6 separate regions of the Homo sapiens genome follow, and all the other regions are linked to region 1. Evidence: promoter capture Hi-C in 16 types of primary human blood cells and fetal thymus (Javierre and others, 2016). All regions are on one chromosome and are shown on one strand. Each heading gives the region's core, a stretch centred on a gene start or on the middle of the fragment in contact. The rest is flanking DNA. Distances are from core to core; before and after follow the strand shown. Region 1 holds the start of PRSS35 (serine protease 35). Region 2 overlaps IBTK (inhibitor of Bruton tyrosine kinase). Region 3 overlaps IBTK (inhibitor of Bruton tyrosine kinase). Region 4 has its middle 14 kb from the start of IBTK. Region 5 has its middle 40 kb from the start of IBTK. Region 6 holds the start of TPBG (trophoblast glycoprotein).

Evidence for each region. Contacts are between HindIII fragments. The CHiCAGO score rates a contact against its expected background, and 5 or more counts as called.
Region 2: a contact is called between a fragment that was not itself captured here and the fragment with the promoter of PRSS35 in region 1, in 1 of 17 cell types (M0 macrophages). The highest score is 5.8, in M0 macrophages.
Region 3: a contact is called between a fragment that was not itself captured here and the fragment with the promoter of PRSS35 in region 1, in 1 of 17 cell types (M0 macrophages). The highest score is 7.3, in M0 macrophages.
Region 4: a contact is called between a fragment that was not itself captured here and the fragment with the promoter of PRSS35 in region 1, in 8 of 17 cell types (naive B cells, total B cells, total CD4 T cells and 5 more). The highest score is 9.6, in naive B cells.
Region 5: a contact is called between a fragment that was not itself captured here and the fragment with the promoter of PRSS35 in region 1, in 1 of 17 cell types (naive B cells). The highest score is 5.6, in naive B cells.
Region 6: a contact is called between a fragment that was not itself captured here and the fragment with the promoter of PRSS35 in region 1, in 1 of 17 cell types (endothelial precursors). The highest score is 6.2, in endothelial precursors.

The regions. Positions count from the first base shown.
Region 1 is chr6:83,511,278-83,513,787 of GRCh38, forward strand. It overlaps PRSS35 (serine protease 35), which reads left to right and starts at 1,257. Exons shown (of 2, transcript NM_153362.3): 1 at 1,257-1,417. The HindIII fragment of the contact is 1,326 bases long and covers 550-1,875 here.
Region 2 is chr6:82,195,941-82,198,450 of GRCh38, forward strand. IBTK (inhibitor of Bruton tyrosine kinase) reads right to left here. Exons shown (of 29, transcript NM_015525.4): 22 at 358-506. Among named protein-coding and RNA genes, the nearest start is that of IBTK, 51 kb to the right of the region's middle. The HindIII fragment of the contact is 1,334 bases long and covers 589-1,922 here.
Region 3 is chr6:82,227,080-82,229,589 of GRCh38, forward strand. It overlaps IBTK (inhibitor of Bruton tyrosine kinase), which reads right to left. Exons shown (of 29, transcript NM_015525.4): 5 at 113-223. Among named protein-coding and RNA genes, the nearest start is that of IBTK, 19 kb to the right of the region's middle. RefSeq lists a silencer at 790-990. The HindIII fragment of the contact is 2,775 bases long and covers 1-2,510 here.
Region 4 is chr6:82,260,760-82,263,269 of GRCh38, forward strand. No RefSeq gene overlaps it. Among named protein-coding and RNA genes, the nearest start is that of IBTK, 14 kb to the left of the region's middle. The HindIII fragment of the contact is 349 bases long and covers 1,085-1,433 here.
Region 5 is chr6:82,286,896-82,289,405 of GRCh38, forward strand. No RefSeq gene overlaps it. Among named protein-coding and RNA genes, the nearest start is that of IBTK, 40 kb to the left of the region's middle. The HindIII fragment of the contact is 8,846 bases long and covers 1-2,510 here.
Region 6 is chr6:82,363,565-82,366,074 of GRCh38, forward strand. TPBG (trophoblast glycoprotein) reads left to right here and starts at 253. Exons shown (of 2, transcript NM_001376922.1): 1 at 253-344; 2 at 1,059-2,510. The coding sequence starts at 1,398. It overlaps LOC105377875 (a long non-coding RNA gene), which reads right to left and starts at 93. Exons shown (of 3, transcript XR_942738.4): 1 at 48-93. RefSeq lists enhancers at 1-199, 200-711, 863-1,765, 1,766-2,510 and a silencer at 1,734-1,813. The HindIII fragment of the contact is 2,910 bases long and covers 1-2,510 here.

The DNA of each region.
Region 1 (2,510 bases), core at 7-2,506:
TATGTTAACAATGCTAAATGAGAAAACAGCAATGAAATTGTATATATAGTTGGCCCTTGGACACATATTTGAACTGCACAGGTCCACTTATACACAGATTTTTTTTTTCACCCAAAAGCGGATAGAAAACAGTATTTTCAGGCAGAAATGCTTAAACAGAGGGCAGACTTTTCCTATACGCGGGTTCCCCAGGGCCCACAGCTGGACTTGGACTTGAATATGGGATGATTTTAGTATGGGGGGGCGGAGGGGAAGAGGGCCTGGAACTAGTCCGTTGAGTATAACGAGGGACAATGCTAAGTATGTTATAATCTCATTAAAAGTACACAGAACTTGAGATACGCAATAACCTACTAACGAACCAAGTGTTACAAGACATGCTAAGACCTTGTGTTGTAAGTACTTGTGCACTTACTCGATCTCCCTGCTTTAGGGCCAGGACCGAGTTTTTTTGTTTTTGTTTTTGTTTTTGTTTATGTATTCTCTCGTTGTATCAGTTCATCTTGCCCCAGACCTGTCACCCACTAGAATTTGTTGTTAAACAAATGAAGCTTCCTTTCTCATGTGGCCCCCACCCCTCTCCTAAAGGAGAATAAAAGGTCGAGAGAACGGATGAGGTTAGAATGCTGGTGGGACTGAGATGGGAAAGGACCTTAAAGGTTACTCGCCCAAAGAGGAAAACCAGCCTTTTCCCTGCAGACGGAAACTGACGCGCTCCCCCTGGAGGCAGCGCAGGATGCTCCCGGGGGTCCAGGCGTCCCAGCCTGAGGTCCCCATCCTCGTGTGCAGCCTGGGCGCCTGGTACAAGTCGGGGTAACCCTGAGGCTTGTGCATCCAGAGAAGCTAGGTCCCCGGTGGAGACTAGCTTGGGATAAGGTTGGGGAGACGCCCTCCGTTCTTCTAGATGCCTGGGGTCTCAACAGCAAGCAGTGAGGAATGAGACTCTTAACTGAACAACTCCTGAGACTGTTAAAGGAGTGCATACTATTACAGGGACAGGCATCCCCTGTGAACCTACTCATGAATTTTTCCTAATGCTTAATTCAGCTTGGGGGCAGAAATGCTGGGGTGAGACACGGCCAGGTCCGCCCCGTTCCTCCAGGGAACTCCCCTCTCCGCCCTCCCTCTCCGTCTCCTCTTGCCCACCTCCTCCTCCTCCCCTCCCCCCACTCCATCCCACCGCGCCCGCCCCTCGTCATCGCCCCCTTTCCCCTCCCATCTCCCGGCCGTGGTGCGGCGCAGCTCTCTCCCCCTCCGCAGTCTCAGTGGCGAGCTCTGGGTGCTGTGGCCCGGCCTTGGCGGGGCGGCCTCCGGCTCAGGCTGGCTGAGAGGCTCCCAGCTGCAGCGTCCCCGCCCGCCTCCTCGGGAGCTCTGATCTCAGCTGACAGTGCCCTCGGGGACCAAACAAGCCTGGCAGGTAAAGATGAAGCTCCCCAAACCCAACAACCTTAGAACTTAGAAATTTCCCTGAGAAAGGCAGGACCTACCCGAGGAGAGCTTCTTTGAAGGACTTTGAAGAAAGGGATCAAACTTGACACTTTCTTTCAGTCCTCAAAGAAACTAACCACCCTTCCCATAGGCAATTCTGTGTGCCGGCCTCTGCACAGTTTAATATTAACGACAACAATGTTTGCATTGGAATATAAATGGAATTCTTTCTGCTTAAGCAGTACCAGAGGGGACCCTCTTTATTTTTATGATTGTTAACAGATGCCATTGAGAAAGGTATGAAACGCATTCCTGAAAAGTCTCTTTGGCGGGGTTACTATGAAAGCTAGCCTCTCCCCTCTACCCTTTTATCAACTTGGCTGCGGAGGTCAGCAAAAGGAGCATAGGAAAACGTTTAGAAAATGAGGCGGCGAAATGAAGTAGAAAAGCTTTTGACTTGCTTTGAAATACTCTAGCTGAAAAAAAAAAGTGTGTGGGGTGGTGATGGTGGATGAAACATTGGCAAAATATTGACAATAGTTGAAGCTGGTGATGTGCACATGGGGGTTGTACTTTTCTCTCAACTTAATACTTTTCTCTGTGCTTTTGTGTAGTCTTGAAATTTTCTATAATAAAAGGTTTTTTAAAAAGTTGTAGAAACACTCCCGCTTGATTGCTCTGACATTTTTACACTGTCCTTGATTTGAAAAGAAGCTGCTTGCTGTGTCTAGGGGGCTTTCACCCCTTATTAACCCTTCTGACTTCTGAAATTCATTCTTATTTTATCCGAAGTACATTTGTCTCCACAGAGGATTATAAAAGTCATATTTTGCTGGCTGGAGAATTATACTTAGAATCTGGTTTATAATTTAGAAGAGAGAATGTTAAAATCCCTGCCAAATAAGACATGTAGGCTTGAAGGTAGAGGCCAAGTATCATATGGAATTTTATTTTTATTAGGAAATATTAGAGGAGTTCCTTTAGTGAGGGAAGTGGTAGATGTGGATACTGTACCCCATTTTTCTTCCAGATAGCTGGGAAAACTGCATGCTTTTAAGAAGCTTTTTCACGTTTTAAAATGT
Region 2 (2,510 bases), core at 6-2,505, 1.3 Mb before region 1:
ATTTGCCTTGACAATTTTTAACTGATGTTAACTGACATTTCACAAGATAAATTTCAATAATTTAGCTACAAATATATTTTTTCAACATGTCTATAGTGTTATTATATTTTACATCAACATTATATTTTAGTTGCACAAAGACTAGAAATAACATCATAAAGGGCTCAAAACTGCCATTACAATCTCTAAAAATAGAAATGTTGTGCAAATTTAAGAAAACTAACACTATATTTGTGATTCTTATATACCAACCTGGAAACTGTTTTAAAATTAGGGCAAAAATAAGGAAATATTAAAGATAAACCATCTATAAATCTAAAATCTGAAGGTAAGGAGGTAGTGCTTCAAAAAACAAACCTCAATCTTATCTGAATGAAATCCTGTTGTGAAATCAGGGGACTGTAAATCTCTAGGACTACCCACTCCTGCATAGCTTCCTTCAGAGTCTGATGTCAACAGTTCTGGAAGAGATTCCACAGAATTGGTCTTACCAGACTTTAATAATCCTAAAACATGAAATTAAAAAAAATTAAACACATATGCATTAAACATATATGCATTACATTCCATGAACCAGAGAGCTAAAAAAGCTTTCATTTATCCAGATTTAATAACATTCAAATTATATTTATGGTATAAAAATCTTAATAATTCAAGTTAACTGGAGAAAGAAATCAGTTTAAGTGAAAAACTGAAATGGAAGAGATTCTAAAACAATAATTTTATTCATTACAATCACACACCAATTGTGTAATGAACCTGAGGAAGATAGTTCTTTGGGATCTGCTCTAAAAAGTGATTTAAAATATTTTTGTCCGCATAAGAGACAAAGGAGAAAGGGAAAATAATTAAAATCCAGACCTCTTTTCCCTTTCTCATCTGTCTCTTGGTACAGTGGTCTCCGCACCCAAGCAAGGGGGTAGCTTCATTCTATGTGGGAGGAACCCTGTGGCCTTTTTGCCTCTCACTTAGCCAGCTGACTGACCCCATAGCAGAGGCTCCCGCAGAAGACAACTGTGGCCTGTTTGAAGTGTGTTTTTCCCTGAAATCTCTGGCTATTGAGAGCTCGCTTGAAGCAAGAGGGTTGTTGTGAAATGTATATATCATTTCTTCTCTTAGGCAAGCTAAATGCCTGGCCTCATGCCACACCTGGTATCCAGGTTCAAACTTTTGCTTAGATTCACATGTCCATTTCCACACATTTCAAATTTATTAGAATCTAAATGAAGTACCAAAATAAGCTATAAAATAAAGATGTTATCTAACTTGTAACTAAAAGCTGTATAATTGATTTAAAAATAAAACCTACCATCTCTTATACATTGTTCTCTTTAAAGTAAATCACCTTAACAAGCTAAATGTTTCTTTTATTGTTATCACTACAATTTGGAAAGAACATTTAAACATTTTTTTTGCCACACAATCTTTTTGAATTTTTTTTTTTTTTTGAGACAGAGTCTTACTCTATTGCCCAGGCTGGAGTGCGGTGGCATGATCTCAGCTCACTGCAACCTCCACCTCCAGGTTCAAGTGTTTCTCCTGCCTCAGCCTTCCAAGTAGCTAGGATTACAGGCATGCACCACCATGCCCGGCTAATTTTTTTTGTATTTTTACTAGAGACAGCGTTTCACCATATTGGCCAGGCTGGTCTGGAGCTCCTGATTTTGTGGTCCGCCCGCCTTGGCCTCCCAAAGTGCTGGGATTACAGGCAGGAGCCACTGCGTCTTGCCTCTTTTTGAATATTTTTAAGGCTGGCAAATTTTCATCGAAGAGAATACATCTAATATTAGAACACTCTCAAAAGTCAGTTAGAAATAAATCCAGAAAAAAAGAGGACAATTAATGTGGCCAACAATTACTTCTGGTCAAAAACAGTTTTGCTGAATGCCGTTTGTCTAACTTTAAGATCGACACAGATGTTAAGCTTTTACGCAACTGTCTTTGATGAAATTGGCCTCATACTCAAATTTTCTTCCTTAACAGGTCTTTTTGGCCTCCAATTAAATCTGACCTTTTAGTTATCTTTGACTACAGATATCCTGGCCACAGAAAGAACAGTACACCAGGAAAATACGGACCTGGAATCAAGAGAACAAATTTTATTTCTTTTGGTCACTACTTCAAATCACTTATGTTTTTTGAGCTTCTTTCCTTAGGTTTAAAGTAAGGGACATAAATTATTTCATTACTAATGTCTCTTCTAGCTCTGAAATTCTAAGATTCTAACACATATGGTAACAATAACATTATTTAAAACAAACCAAATATCTGCTTTTCCATAAGTCATTTAGGTGACTGGAAAGTCATTACTTTCAAGACTGTCTATCCATTATTCATCCTTCCATCAATCCACCCCTGCCTCCTTCTAAACACTAACGGTAATTCATACAACACAGAGAACACAGAGTCACAGAATTTTAAATTTAGAAAAGTCCTAAGATAATAGCTTTCCCATTTACTAGGTCTCCTGATTCCTATTTTCATTGCTTCATAAATAAATTTTAGGCATA
Region 3 (2,510 bases), core at 4-2,503, 1.3 Mb before region 1:
TTGATGTATTATTTCGTCCTTACAGTTGAAAAAAAAATTTAGTTAATTAAATCTTTCAGCTTATCAGCATTTTTCTAAAGTTACCTAAATAGTGTAATGACATTTCAATTACCAAGCATGTCTGTTCATCTCCATGTCCTAATCGCCCTCCAGGACCATGACCACAGGTATAAACCTGCCCTTTCTGAGACAGAAACACGGAGTGAAATTTACAAAGCACCACCTAAGGGAAAACAAGAGAATATTATTAAACTTCTCTGAATAAAATATCCTTTATTTTATGAAAAAGAAATAGAATATTGTTAATTGTTTAAACAGGATAATGGATACAAGGGGAATTTATAAGACTTTAATTTCCACATTTTAAGTTTCCTGTAATAAAAATAAAAGATACATATGCTTTGTTTTAAAATTATGTCTAAAAACATTGACACGAAAAAAAAGAACAAAGAAAGAATTAAGCATGTGTTACCCACAGAAGAGATTACCCAAAGGAAAATATAATTTTAAACCTTCAATTCCAAAAATTAGTAGCCAGTTGTTTTCCAGTTTCATGAAATATCAAACAGTAAGAAATGAGCAAAGTGCAACAGGAAGCATAAAGATTACCAAATAGTGATATATGGTACTAATAAAAATAATAGAAACATCTTCAGAGTGTTTTCAAAAAACAATAAAGCCATTTATACATGGCGTAGGGGGCAGTATGTCCTTTTCTTTATCTTTGGTTTTATCAACATGTCTTTAATATACATTTATAATTATTTTAATAAATAATTTTATATTTATTTTCAAGTTTTTCTCTCCTTTCCCACTTCCTTTTTCCTTATCTGCCTCAATCTCAGTACACTCCCTTGCCCCTGATACACAGACTTACTATTCACATACTACAGAAGACAAAGATACTGAAACAGTTGAACTGCCTCAGCAGAACACAATAACAGGAAACCATCAGCAGTTTCAAATATATATATATTTACATATCTAACCCTGGGCCACATTTTGCTATTTTCCAAGCTCTGATATTCATTATACTCACTTTACCTTAATAATATTTTTAAAATCTTCTCATTTTTAAAGATTGTTTGCATTTATATTTCTTACAACATCTGCAAATATTTCTAACTTAGGATATAAAAAGATGAGTAAGAAATAAAGAAACCCTAAAATCATTTCCAGAAAGTCAAGGTCCTTTGGAAAACAAAAAAATTATAAGCTAGACAAGCTCTAAATATTTACACATACCCTAGACCGCTCGGAATTTTGTAAGCACAATATAGCTATCAAATAAAAAAAGTAATGCAAAGATTATTATCTCATTTAGCTGTACCACAAATACCTAAAAAGTTTAAAAATAAAATCCAAATTTGTATTTTAAATTTACAAGTTGTCAGTGAAATTCATTTTATGAAATAAGAAAGAATACATTTCATTCAATTTTATATTAAATATTAGAATGCCATCCTACAACTGCTGACTTCTACTACTAAACAACAGTTGCAATACTAGACAGTTTTAAGTTATCCAACTTTAAAAACCCCAGACTTTTTTTTTTTTTTTGAGACGGAGTCTCGCTCTGTCACCCAGGCTGGAGTGCAGTGGCGCCATCTCGGTTCACTGCAAGCTCTGCCTCCCGGGTTCACGCTATTCTCCTGCCTCAGCCTCCCGAGTAGCTGGGACTACAGGTGCCCGCCACCACGCCTGGCTAATTTTTTATATTTTTGGTAGAGATGGGGTTTCACTGTGTTAGCCAGGATGGTCTCGATCTCCTGACCTCGTGATCTGCCCGCCTCAGCCTCCCAAAGTGCTGGGATTACAGGTATGAGCCACTGCGCCCAGCCTAAAACCCCTGAATTTTTAAATAAGAACTGAGCATGGATTTTCGCTTTTAATTATCTGGAATATATAATACTAACATTAATAATCTCTGTCTCATGGTAGTTAATTAATTTGGTACTGTATAATATAGAATCAGCCCCTTTTCAATAACAAATGGGGCTCTCTATATAACTGGTACTCAATTAATATTCCCATACTTGCTTTCTCTTCCCTGACTGAAATTTATACTGATTTCTTTCCTTCAAACCTACCCACTGTGCTTGCTTCACCCTCATTCTGTGGTAAATAAAATCCCTTAGATCCTTAATACCTTCACAAAACACGCCCACTGCCTTGCCTTACCTGAAATGTGGCTTTCTCTTTGAGTACACTAGTTCACTCACAACCCTGGCAAATGGAATATGCTCAAATATTCCAAACTATATATTTCTTTGGATCAGACATTTCAATCACCCTCTGATTTCCTAATGCCATCATGATTCCCTCACTCTTGTCTTTAAAATCCCTGCTCCGTAACAGCTCATGAAATAAAGGTATATCATGTACTACCTCAAAAAAGGAAAAACAGGTGTCTTTCTTGTGCCACAATTCCAATCAATCATTAGTGGCTGCTAATGGTTGGATTATCATTTTAAGGAGGAGTCTGAGGACCCACTCAAGCTCAGCATGAG
Region 4 (2,510 bases), core at 9-2,508, 1.3 Mb before region 1:
TCCAATCTGTTTCCACATCCAGTAACATAAATATTTCAATGTAATGCCAACCCATAAATATTAGCTGATGATCACGATCTAAACTGTATTTCAAAAAATAAGAGGCATCCATTAAAAGGGTTTTAAAATATTTTATTCACACTTTTCATGGAAATCTTTTTCTAAACTTCTAATTGCACTAGAGAAAATACCAGTAAAATCTTCTCATAAGGATGACCATGAAGGACTTCTGTTTATCTTTATTAAATGTAGACCCAACACATCCCCAACTACAAGTGTTCTACTTCCTCATTTCCTATTTAAAGGAAAGGAAAAAAACTCACTTCCTTTTCTTTACCATTCTTTTGAGACCTATCAAACTGGTAAACTGCTCCATACTGCTCTATTAATAGCAGCTAATGGGTAGTGAGGCACCATAATTGCCTTTTAGTGATGATGCCTTAATTCACTAAATTCATTAGTAAATCTAGTACTGGAAATGTTTTCAGGCACTCATAGTTCAAGAGAGAGAGATTTGGGAACAGGCCAGATCTAAAGCAAGCATTGTCTGGAGTTCTTTGATTTGTATTAATGCTGTGGAATATGAGTCTGTGAAAGGAAAATAAATTTTGGGACACCCTCCACCCCCACCCACTCCTCGCCAAATCACTAAGCCAAAGGAAAAAGTCAAGCTGGGAACTGCTTAGGGCAAACCTGCCTCCCATTCTATTCCTAAAAAAGATAGCTACTAAGATAAAAAGCTACATACCTCTCTCACAAGAAATTTCCTTGTAGAGAAAGGACAGAGAGGACTCAGTCATCTCTCTGCTCACTGAGATAAATGCATATCTGATTGCCTCCATTGGAAAGGCTAATCAGAAACTCAAAAGAATGCAACCCTTTGTCTCTTTCCTACCTATGAACTGGAAGCCCCCTCCCCGCTTTGAGTTATTCTGCCTTTCCACACAGAACCAATGTACATCTTACATATTGTAATCTCTGTAAAATGTACAAAACCAAGCTGTGCCCCAACAACCTTGGGCACATGTCATCAGGACCTCCTGAAGCTGTGTCATGGGCCTGTGTTCTTAACTTTGGTAAAATAAGCTTCCTAAATTGACTAAGACCTGTTTCAGATAAAGATCACTCCTCAGATCTTACTTTGCAGGAGGGTGCTATCTCTACCTATAATAAGCAAAGCTGATTAAGACTAGTTGAATGCATATAAGAATTACATTAAATGCAATTACACATATCTATTGAGCATATTATATATGTAGACACTGTTAGCTAATGCAGAGGATTCAAGAAAAGCAATTTAAAATCTAGTATGGAGAATAAGGTAGATACATAAGTATCACTGATAGTAAAGTGAGACACTGTCATAAAAGAGACAATGGGATTGTGGAGCTACAAAAAGAGAGAGATTACAATCAGTTGAAAGGATCAGGGAAAGCTTCTTCTTTTTTTTTTTTTTTTTTTTTTTTGAGACGGAGTTTCCCTCTTGTTGCCCAGGCTGGAGTGCAATGGTGCAACCTCAGCTCACTGGAATGTCTACCTCCTAAGTTCAAGGGATTCTCCTGCCTCAAACTTCCAAGTAGCTGGGATTACAGGTGCCTGCCACCACACCCGGCTAATTGAAAGCTTCTAGTGGAGTTATTTGTGAAAGAACTGAGGGATAAATAGGAGCATCTGAAAGGAATCTACTTTTTCCATGATTGCTAATGTAGAGAAAAACTATAAAAGACTTTGAAATGCATCAAAAAGATTACTGATGACTTCAGTAGAAAATTAGGTGGTTTAGCTGGGATCATTGCACCTTTCATTGTCTTTGAGATATTTTACAACTCTGCAAATTGTAGATAATGGATAGCAGTGCAAACAAGCTCATATTCACAAACATGCAAATTAATTTTGTCAGGTGGAAACACAACTGATTTCTTTATTTCCATTTCTGTAATAAGCAAGTTTTGTATTTATTTACTTTTTTTAATATAAACTCTCAACTAAGTGATTTTATTCCTGTCCATGATTGCAGACACTTACAAAAACATAACATCTGAGTTCACCTTAAGAAATAACTTACAGCTGGGCATGGTGGCCCATGCCTGTAGTCCCAGCTACTTGGGAGGTTGAGGAAAGAGAATCACTTGAACCCAGGAGGTGAAGATTGTAGTGTGCCCAGATTGTCCCACTGCACTTCAGCCTAGGTGACAGAGTGAGACTCTGTCGAAAAAAAAAAAGAAGGAAGGAAGAAAGGAAGGAAGGAAGGAAGGAAGGAAGAAAAAGAAAGAAAGAAAGAGAAAGAAAGAAAGAAAGAGAAAGAAAGAAAGAAAGAAAGAAAGAAAGAGAAGGAAAGAAAGAAAGAAAGAAAGAAAGAAAGAAAGAAAGAAAGAAAGAAAGAAAGAAAGAAAAGAAAAGAAAGAACGGACGAATGAACTTGCATAAAGCAGGGACATAGATAGCACACAATAGTTCAGGGAGGATGCAGAAGCAACTTTTAGTAATTAAAATGTTAATGTGAATAAAGG
Region 5 (2,510 bases), core at 9-2,508, 1.2 Mb before region 1:
ATTGTTTTTATTGTTGTGTTATTATTGTTTTATTTTTATTTATTTTTTTGAGATGGAGTCTCACACTGTCACCTGGGCTGGAGTGCAGTGGCGCGATCTTAGCTCACTGCAACCTCCGCCTCCCAGGTTCAAGCCATTCTCCTTGCCTCAGTCTCCCAAGTAGCTGGTATTACAGGTGCCCGCCACCATGCCCGGCTAATTTTTTTGTATTTTTAGTAGAGACAGAGTTTCACTATGTTGGTCAGGCTGGTCTCAAACTCCTGATTTCATGATCAGCTTGCCTCGGCCTCCCAAAGTGCTGGGATTACAGGTGTGAGCCACCGCACCTGGCCTATTTTATTTATTTATTTATTTATACTTATTTTTTTTGAGACGGAGTCTCGCTCTGTTGCTCAGGCTGGGGTGCAAAGGCACGATCTTGGCTCAGTCAACCACTGCCTCCCAGATTCAAGTGATTCTCCTGCCTCAGCCTCCAGAGTAGCTGGGGTTACAGGCACCTGCCACCATATCCAGCTAATTTTTGTATTTTTGTAGAGATGGGGTTTCACCATGTTGGCCAGGCTGGTCTTGAACTCCTGACCTCAGGTGATTTGGTCACCTTGGCCTCCCAAAGTGTTGGGATTTCAGGTGTGAGCCACCGCACCCAGCCCATATTGTCATTATTTATGTATTTATTTGTTTTTATATGTTTTCTGTCTCCAGTTGATTGAATCCAGGGATATGGAACCCACAGATAAGAACTGATTATATTAGGCCAGTGAAGTAAAATGGCTGCCTGAAAGGTAAGAAAACAAATGAGGATTCAATGAAAACAGCAAAGACAGAAATCTCCCCAGGAAAGCTGAGAACAGAGATTGGTTGTTGGTCAATTCATTTGTGCCCCATTGATATTCAACATTGACTGGATTGTATAACTTTCTTTCTTCACTAACATCAGGTTATTATTATTGGCGCTAGGTTTTTTCTTCCCATTTGTGCATGGTTTAACACATCTCCCAAAATGAGACTGTCATGCAGGGATATATTGTAAAAAAGCATTGGAAGAATGAGAAAAGTGGTAGTAGTAAGTCCACTGGATGATAGAGTAGAGAGGAAACATTATTCTGCCCAAGATAAGAAAATTATAATAGAAATAAGATGGTGATCATTAGCAAAGAATTTAAGTTCTCTCCTCCTACAAACAGCAGAGAGTTCTCATGACTCTCCAGGTTTTTCTTTGTTCAATGGCTTCCCAGAAGGTGATAAGTGAATAATAGATAACACTCAGTGAAGTTAAGCAAGGGCTTCTAGAGAGTAGAGAAGATGATTCCATAGGCTAAGAGCTAAAGGGAAAGTCTTGGTTACTTTCAAAATTCATTACATGAAGGAGAGTTCCAAAAAGTCCTAGAAACTTGAATATAAAAGTGATTGCAACATTTATGTGGCCAACAAATATACAAAAAAAAGCTCAACATCACTGATCATTAGAGAAATGCAAATCAACACCACAATGAGATACCATCTCATGCCAGTCAGAATGGCAATTATTAAAAAGTCAAGAAACAATAGATGCTGGAGGGGCTGTGGAGAAATAGGAACACTTTTACACTGTTGGTGAGAATGTAAATTAGTTCAACTATTGTGGAAGACAGTGTGGCCATTCCTCAAGGATCTAGAACCAGAAATACCATTTTACCCAGCAATCCCATTACTGGGTATATACTTAAAGGAATATAAATCATTCTACTATAAAGACACATGCACACATATGTTTACGGCACCACTGTTTACAATAGCAAAGACATGGAACCAACCAAATGCCCATCAGTGGTAGACTGGATAAAGAAAATGTGGCACATATACACCATGGAATACCATACTATGCAGCCATAAAAAGGATTGAGATCATGTCCTTTGCGGGGACATGGATGAAGCTGGAAACATCATCTTCAGAAAACTAACACAGAAACAGAAAACCAAACACCGCATGTTCTCACTCATAAGTGGAAGTTGAATAATGAGGACACATGGACACAGGGAGGGGAAAAACACACACCAGGGACAGTCAGGGGGTGGGGGGTGAGGGGAAGGAGAGCATTAGGACAAATAGCTAATGCATGAGGGGCTTAAAACCTAGATGATGGGTTGATAGGTGCAGCAAACCACCATGGTACCCGTATATGTATGTAACAAACCTTCACGTTCTGCACTTGTATCCCAGAACTTAAAATAAAATTAAAAAAAAAAAAAAGTGAATGCAAACTAAAGTCTGTCACAGCTTCTCAGCAAGACAATGTGTCAGTGATTCTGATTAAAGTGAATGGACTCTATAGACAGAGGTTGCTCAGGAATCCCTGAGATCTTGATGGAGAGCAATCTCTGTGTTTGATTGTATTTGGTGCAGGATTTTCTGTTAATTAAACCTTTTAATATAAGTCTATAGCAAGAATCCTTGTATTGGATTCAAATATTTCTTGGTTCTGAGGCAGGGGAAGAGCAAGGAGGGGATTACAGCAGTGAATAATATTACA
Region 6 (2,510 bases), core at 6-2,505, 1.1 Mb before region 1:
ACCACCCAAGGATGTCGGGGAGGGGGGAGAGAAAGGGATTCCCTCACCTTTTCCGGCACATTCCTCGTTAATTTCCACCAGGAGGAGGCGCGCAGCCCAGCTCCCCTAGTCTCTCTTCTTAAATCCCCCTACCTACGGCTGCCGAGGTTGGCCGCGCGTCGGGAATCTCCCCGACAGTCCTGGCCCTCCCCCGCCCCCCGGGTTGGTTTTTCCCAGCTGCGGAGGTTGGGAGGTTGGGCCAGGGGCTGGGGTGCGAAGAGAGTCGGCGCCCGCAACGCGGAGCCGGGAAGTCGTCGCTACTCTGGTGGAACTCAGAGTTGGTTCTGGAGGCGGCGGACGCGGAGGTGAGCAGTGGGAGCCCGCGGCCTGGGAGAGACCCGGGAGGCGTCGTTGGGGCCCCTCCCCATCCTCGGGTGGAGAGTAGGGTTGGTTCGGGTTGCCACTGTACCCCGAGTCCCACTGCTGCTTTGTTCCCAGACTCTCCCCTCCTCTTTGGAGATGACTTGAACCCCTTTGAGATCCGAGGGGCTGGCGGGGCGCGGGCTGGGGGGCGACAGTTGTAGCTCCACTTCCTGCTAATGCGAGAAGGTACAAAAAGAGATCAAAAAGTCCTGTAACCTGAAACTTCCCTCGCATCCTAACCGGGACCTGGTGGAGAGGTCTGGGCGGGGGCGGAGACACCCGGAGGCCGACCTTCCGCCGAGGCGGTGCAGGAAGGAACGGGAGAGGGAGAAGTTTGGTAGGGAAGGAATTGGGGATTAAGCGGTAAGTTAGACGCGGGAGACGAGTCTCCTCGGGAAAGGCGGAGGGCGGGAGGCCGGTCGGGTTTATTTAGTGTGGGCCAGGGAAGAAGGAAGACTTTGCGGTCTGGGTGTCGGATGCGCGTCCCCCTCCGGAGTAAAAGTGACCGGAGGGGTTGGGGAGGCGAGGCCGGGGCGGGCTTTTGGAAGGAGGTCTCTGGGACAGACTGGAGACGACTAGACTCGAAAAGGCCGGTTTTTGCACTCCGGAAGCCGCGGCAGCCACCGCTGTTCACGCCTCTCTCCTGCTTGTCCCAGGTCCCTCAGAGGATCCAGCGAGGGGCGCCAACAAGAGGCGAAGAGGTGGCACCAGGGCGGCGGCAGGAAGAGGAGCGGGAGCAGGAGCGCGGAGCGGAGCGTCCCGACCCGCCGTGCGTACTTTCTGGAGGGAAGGGGCGGGGGAATCGGCCCCTGAGGGAAGCGCCCGGTGGCGAGGGGGTTAGCCAAGTTCCGGCTGCGGCGCCACTCCCTCGGTTCCACGAGAGGAAAGTTTTTTTTTTCCAGACGCTTCCGCCGGCTCGCGCCCTCCGGGCCCAGCCTCCCGAGCCTTCGGAGCGGGCGCCGTCCCAGCCCAGCTCCGGGGAAACGCGAGCCGCGATGCCTGGGGGGTGCTCCCGGGGCCCCGCCGCCGGGGACGGGCGTCTGCGGCTGGCGCGACTAGCGCTGGTACTCCTGGGCTGGGTCTCCTCGTCTTCTCCCACCTCCTCGGCATCCTCCTTCTCCTCCTCGGCGCCGTTCCTGGCTTCCGCCGTGTCCGCCCAGCCCCCGCTGCCGGACCAGTGCCCCGCGCTGTGCGAGTGCTCCGAGGCAGCGCGCACAGTCAAGTGCGTTAACCGCAATCTGACCGAGGTGCCCACGGACCTGCCCGCCTACGTGCGCAACCTCTTCCTTACCGGCAACCAGCTGGCCGTGCTCCCTGCCGGCGCCTTCGCCCGCCGGCCGCCGCTGGCGGAGCTGGCCGCGCTCAACCTCAGCGGCAGCCGCCTGGACGAGGTGCGCGCGGGCGCCTTCGAGCATCTGCCCAGCCTGCGCCAGCTCGACCTCAGCCACAACCCACTGGCCGACCTCAGTCCCTTCGCTTTCTCGGGCAGCAATGCCAGCGTCTCGGCCCCCAGTCCCCTTGTGGAACTGATCCTGAACCACATCGTGCCCCCTGAAGATGAGCGGCAGAACCGGAGCTTCGAGGGCATGGTGGTGGCGGCCCTGCTGGCGGGCCGTGCACTGCAGGGGCTCCGCCGCTTGGAGCTGGCCAGCAACCACTTCCTTTACCTGCCGCGGGATGTGCTGGCCCAACTGCCCAGCCTCAGGCACCTGGACTTAAGTAATAATTCGCTGGTGAGCCTGACCTACGTGTCCTTCCGCAACCTGACACATCTAGAAAGCCTCCACCTGGAGGACAATGCCCTCAAGGTCCTTCACAATGGCACCCTGGCTGAGTTGCAAGGTCTACCCCACATTAGGGTTTTCCTGGACAACAATCCCTGGGTCTGCGACTGCCACATGGCAGACATGGTGACCTGGCTCAAGGAAACAGAGGTAGTGCAGGGCAAAGACCGGCTCACCTGTGCATATCCGGAAAAAATGAGGAATCGGGTCCTCTTGGAACTCAACAGTGCTGACCTGGACTGTGACCCGATTCTTCCCCCATCCCTGCAAACCTCTTATGTCTTCCTGGGTATTGTTTTAGCCCTGATAGGCGCTATTTTCCTC